2 separate regions of the Homo sapiens genome follow, and region 2 is linked to region 1. Evidence: promoter capture Hi-C in human tissues and cell types (Jung and others, 2019). All regions are on one chromosome and are shown on one strand. The core of a region is centred on a gene start or on the middle of the fragment in contact, and the rest is flanking DNA. Distances in the headings are between cores, read along the strand shown.

What was found. The method cuts DNA at HindIII sites, captures the fragments that hold promoters and counts their contacts. A contact is called where the count stands out against the background at its distance.
Region 2: a contact is called between a fragment that was not itself captured here and the fragment with the promoter of EEA1 in region 1, in 1 of the 25 tissues and cell types used here (dorsolateral prefrontal cortex).

Annotation. Positions count from the first base shown.
Region 1 is chr12:92,927,979-92,930,939 of GRCh38, reverse strand. EEA1 (early endosome antigen 1) reads left to right here and starts at 1,645. Exons shown (of 29, transcript NM_003566.4): 1 at 1,645-1,897. The coding sequence starts at 1,874. RefSeq lists a silencer at 1,176-2,255. The HindIII fragment of the contact is 16,341 bases long and covers 1-2,961 here.
Region 2 is chr12:91,780,575-91,783,508 of GRCh38, reverse strand. No RefSeq gene overlaps it. Among named protein-coding and RNA genes, the nearest start is that of LINC02404, 93 kb to the left of the region's middle. The HindIII fragment of the contact is 5,622 bases long and covers 1-2,934 here.

The sequences.
Region 1 (2,961 bases), core at 396-2,895:
CACCCAGCTAATATTTTTTTAGACGAGTTGTTGCCATGTTGTCCAGGTTGGTCTGAAACTCCTGAGCTCAAGCAATCTGTCTGCTTCCGTCTCCCGAAGTGCTGGGATTACAGGCATAAAATCAGTGTGCCTGACCCTAAACTAATTTTTGAAAAACAAACAAAAAAGAGAAAAAAAGTCACTTTTATCACCCCATGTCGCTGAGAATGTTTCCCATATTGTCTGAAAATAAAGCACCTCATGTTTAGAAAGATGGAAAAGTATGTTCTTTGTAAGTGCATTATCACTAGTGATTACTCATATATTAGCTGTAGGCATGACCGTGCTGCTGCACCATCGAGAGACACACACACACATAATAAAAAACCAAATATATTTGGGATAGAAATATCATATTACATTATATAATGCATTATACTTTACAAAACATTTTCCTATTCATTAACTGATTTGCAAATAATATTTAATTTTGTGCTGCTTTTCAAAAGATCTGGAAGTGCTTTCCAAAAAGCACTCCATTCATTGCTTCATAGGCTTCATTCAGTGGTCTGTTGGTTTTTTCTTTTTTTTTTTTTTTCCCTCCCAGCAAGGTTAGTTCCATTATTCCCTCTCCTTCCCTATTCAAGCAATATTAAAGGCTTCTCTTTTTCTACCAGGGTGTTAAGTTGAGCCTCTTGGCTGTGAATATTGGCAGAATGGTAGGACGCAGAAGCTGTGATTTCTCGAGTTAAATAATGACATCGTGCCTGGAGGTCAGTTCAAAGACCACGTCGTTTTGGCACGATATTTATCTGTGACCTCATTTTCTTCTTAATCTATAAAACAGAGGCGTTAATGACAATTTACTTCATAAATCGATTATCAGAATAGGACTTAAAATTCCTTAGGAGGTCAAGCACGGGCTTTAGAAAGTGCAACATGTGAACATCAGCCTATTAAAAATTGTTTTGATCTAGAAAAGACAACCTCAAACTTCTCTTGCCAATTCAAATTCCAGCTTCTTCCTACCCTTCTTTTCTAAATCTTTGCTTTCTCTTTGGCTGAAATTAGAAGCAGGAAGGGAGCAGGGAAAGGAAACCTGGGACTGGAAAAGGGCAGGGAAGCCCAACAGACCGGTTAAGCACGTCTGAGATTCTCTAGTCGGCTTCAACCCAGGGGCTAAGAGGCAGAGTCAGCGTTTCCAGCAGAAACTAGCATATAGCTCAGGCTCAATACCACGTCGAGTCAGGAGCCATCGCCGGAAGGGTCACACCGACACATTTTACAAAACAGCCTAAGGCGTCCCCTCCTCCCGCCTGGGTCAGGGAGGGACACCCCCAGGGGTCCTCGCCCGCCTCCCACTAGCGGGCACGCGGTCGTCGCGCGGGCGCGGCCCTCTGACGGAGCCCAGGCGTGCACTCCGCAGCCTCGGCGTCCCCCAGCTAGCCGGAAGAAGCTGCGGCGACAGCGTCCTGCCGCCTGTCTGTCACGCAGCCGCCCACGTTGCCACCGCTTCCGATTGGTCGCTGGCCTGGACCGGCCCCCTTCAGCCCCGCCTCCCGCGAATGGACAGGCGAGGGGCGGGCCCGCCACCGCCCCGCCCCCCGGCGGCCGCGGGCGGGCCCGCCCATCTGTCAGTTACGGGGGCTGCCCGGCGGGCGGGCTGGAGGCGCTCGCAGGCTGCCTAGTCGTTCGCTCGCTCTCTCTCGCGTGCTCCCTCTCGCCGCCTGTGGGGAAGTCGGGGCCGCCCGAGCGGCCGTCGCCACCGCCTCGCCCCGACCTCCTTCCCGGTCCCCTCCCGGCCCAGTCCCTCCCGCCCGCGCACCCCGAGTAGTGAGTGGCCCCGCGCAGGGTCTGGAGAGTCACCGCGGCGGCGCCGGGTGGTGGTTAAACCATGTTAAGGAGGATTTTACAGAGGGTAAGAGAGTGAAACCGTCTTTCTGGCAGCACGTGAGCGGGACAGCCGGAGCTCGGGGCCGCGGCGCGGGCGCCCCTCCTCAGCGCGGGCTCCTTCCTTCCCTAGGCCCCACAGCCCGGCAGGCGCTTAGGCCTCGGTCGCCCGGCCCGGGGGCGGGGAGGGCGGGTGGGGCCGGCGCGGCGGGGCGGCAGGCAGAGCCCTGGTGGCCCCGCGCGTCCAGGCCTGGCGCCCGCTCCGGCGCGGGGCTCCGTGTGTGCGAGCGGGCTGCGAGCTGGAGGGTGTGGTGCCGGCGCGTTCCTCCCGGGAACCCTGAGTGGGAGTGAAAATGGAGAGTTGGTGCCCGTGGGACGGGCCAGCCGCCGCCTGCCGGGCTGGAGAACGCCCCATGGGAGATTCGGGCGGCTTGCTTCGCCTTTCCCCACCCGCCGCACTCCCCGTGCCCCCCAATTTGACACGATGCGCACCTGCCACACACGGCCCTGCTTTCTCCTTTGGACCACAGTGGAGGGTGGTGTGGTGAGCCCCGGCCTAGCCTGGGCCCAGGCGTGGGACTGACACTGGCACAGTCAGCCGAGAAGGAAGATGTTACTCACTGTTGGAAACTTTTTTTTTAATTAAAAATATGTTTTCTGTGCAAGCCCCACTACCTTATTTTAGCTATCCAAGAATAAATCCGCAGTAAGCTTGATCAAGTGGTATATACACTTAGTTTCTGCCTGTGCTGTCTCTGAAATCTGGAAAACCTTGAGGATAGAAAGATTAGAGCATTAGAAAACTGTAGGTGTATCATTTAAGAATCAGTTACTAGAATAACATAATTCACATCTCTTTTCCTGTAAGAGTTATTGTACCTGTCAACTTAAATTTGTTTTTTTTTTTTGGTATAGCTTTTTTCTTTTCTTTTTGAGGCTGATAGGGTGTAACAAAATGTAAATGATTGAAAAGTAGGTGCCGAGCCTATTAGTTCTTTACCGAGGGAGTAGGATAACTAGTTCAAAGGACAAAAGAAATTAGTGAATTTGTAGGATTCAGCCGAGGAATGTGCGGAAGAGAGTTGAGTCATC
Region 2 (2,934 bases), core at 113-2,612, 1.1 Mb after region 1:
ATCCATATGTTCTCATCATTCAGCTCCCAATTATACGTGAGAACATGCAGTCTTTTGTTTTCTGTTCCTGCATTAGTTTGCTGAGAATAATGGCTTCCAGCTCCATCAATGTCCCTGCAAAGAGCATGGTCTCGTTCCTTTTTATGGCTACATAGTATTCCATGGTGTGTATGTACCACAGTTTCTTTATCCAGCCTGTCACTGATGGGCATTTAGGTGGATTCCATGCCTTTGCTATTGTGAATAGTGCTCAATGAACATATGCATGCATGTATCTTTATAGTATAATGATTTGTATTCCTTTGGGTATATACCCAGTAATGGGATTGCTGGGTCAAACAATATTTCTGCCTCTATGTCTTTGAGGAATCACCACACTGTCTTCCACAATGGTTGAACTAATTTACACTCCCACCAACAGTAGAAAAGTGTTCTTCTCCACAACCTCATGAACATCTGTCTTTTTTTGTCTTTTTAACAATAGCTATTTTAACTGGCATGAGATGGTATCTCACTTATGGTTTTGACTTGAATTTCTCTAATGATCAGTAATGTTGAGCTTTTTTTCATGTTTGTTGGCTGCATGTATATCTTCTTTTGAGAAGCGTTCATGTCATTTGCCCACTCTATAATGGGGTTGTTTTTGTTTTTTTTGCCTGTTGATTTGTTTAAGCTCTTTGTAGACTCTGGATATTAGATCTTTTCAGATGGATAGATTGCAAAATTTTTCTCCTATTCTATAGGTTGTCTATTCATTTTGATGATAGTTTCTTTTGCTGTGCAGAAGCTCTTTAGTTTAATTAGATTCCATTTATCAATTTTTGCTTTTGTTGCAATTGCTTTTGGTACCTTCATCATAAAATATATGCCCATGCCTGTGTCCTGAATGGTATTGTGTAGGTTCTAGGGTTTTTATAGTTTTGGGTTTACATTTAAGTCTTTAATACATCTTAAGTTGATTTTTGTACATGGTATAAGGAGGGGTCCAGTTTCAATTTTCTGCATATCGTTAGCCAGTTATCCCAGCACCATGTATTAAATAGGGAATCCTTTCCCCATTGCTTGTTTTTGTCAGGTTTGTTGAAGATAAGATGCTTGTAGGTGTGCAGTCTTATTTCTAAGTTCTCTATTCTTTTCCATTGGTCTATGTGTCTATTTTTGTACCAGTACCATGCTGTTTTGGTTACTGTATCCCTGTAGTATCGTTTGAAGTCTGGTAGCGTTATACCTCCAGCTGTGTTCTTTTTGCTTAGGATTGTTTTGGCCATATGGGCTCTTTTTTGGTTCCATATGAATTTTAAAATAGTTTTTTTTCTAATTCTGTAAAGAATGTCAATGTAATTCTGTAAAGAATGTAGTTTAATTGAATTAGCATTGAATCTATAAATTGCTTTAGGCACTATGGCCATTTTCATGATACTAATTCTTCCTATCCAGGAGCATGGAATGTTTTGTCATTTGTTTTTATCATCTCTGATTTCTTTGAGCAGTGGTTTGTAGTTCTCCTTGAAGAGGTCCTTCACTTCCCTTGTTAGCTCTATTCCTAGGTATTTTATTCTTTTTGTGGCAATTGTGAATGGGAGTTCATTCATGATTTGGCTCTCGGCTTGCCTGTTATTGGTATGTAGGAATGCTGGTGATTTTTGCACATTGATTTTGTATCCTGAGATTTTGCTGAAGTTGCTTATCAGCTTAAGGAGATTTTGGGCTGAGACGATGGGGTTTTCTAAATATACAATCATGTCATCTGCAAACAGAGACAATTTGACTTCCTCTCCTCCTCTGTGAATACCCTTTATTTCTTTCTCTTGCCTGATTGCCCTGGCCATAACTTCCAATGCTATGTTAAATAGGAGTGGTGAGAGAGGGCATCCTTGTCTTGTGCTGGTTTTCAAAGGGAATGCTTCCAGTTTTTGCCCATTCAATATGAGATTTTTTATCTTTGTATTCCTGGCACCAAACACAGTGCCTAGTATGTATCAGACTCTTAAAAGCTATATTTTAAACAAAATTAAATTAAAAGTAACTGAAATTTCATGAGGCACAGACATGGCTGTTAGTCAGAAGAGGCTGGATTACGCATCAGGAAAAAACAGCACTGAAGTCTCCGTTGCAAACATACCACAGCCCTATTTCTTATGCTTATGATCCATGCCACTCTCCAAGGTGGCTAGTATCCATGAAGCTCCTACACTCAGAGATCTAGGCTAACAAAGGAGCTATTGGACAGCTCCACCTTATAGCTGCATGTTCTGGCTATAGTGTGGCTTTCAGATTCACCAGGAAAGGGAGAAGGGGAGAAGGTGTGATGGAAGGATTTTCTCTGTTCAGGGTTTGGTTCAGAATTAATGCACATCTGTTTACACACAGTCCATTGGCCATCACCAGCATGTGGCCCCATCAAACTACAAAGTGGCTAGAAAGTGTGACACAATTGTATCCCCAGAAGGAGAGGAAAATTAGAAAGCAACGAATGTTAGGGATCTCTCTGTCTAAAGTAACATGCAAGAGTAATTTTTAATGTGCTTTTTAAATGTTTTCTTTAAAAAAGATAATGCTCAAATACCATTCAAGGACTCTTCTATTCCAGCTCCCCTACCTTGGCTCCAAATGTACTCAGCCAAATGCATATATTTTGCTTTCATAGAAGAGTCTATAAACAACAAGATCACAAAATAGGCACGATATCTTTGGAGGCCTTCACACAAAGACTTACATAAGTAAAATATGACATAAATAATACTCAAGTATCAAGGCCTGAGCTTTTGGAGAGTAAAAAAATAATACCAGAAAAGTTCTTCAAGGGCATATAGTTGGTGGTTAGATACTAAATAAAACACTTGCAGATTTAACCCCAATAATTGATTATTCTTTAAGGGTTAAGGTCAGTGTTTTGCACACCAAATGACACTGTGGATTCATAAACTATCTGAT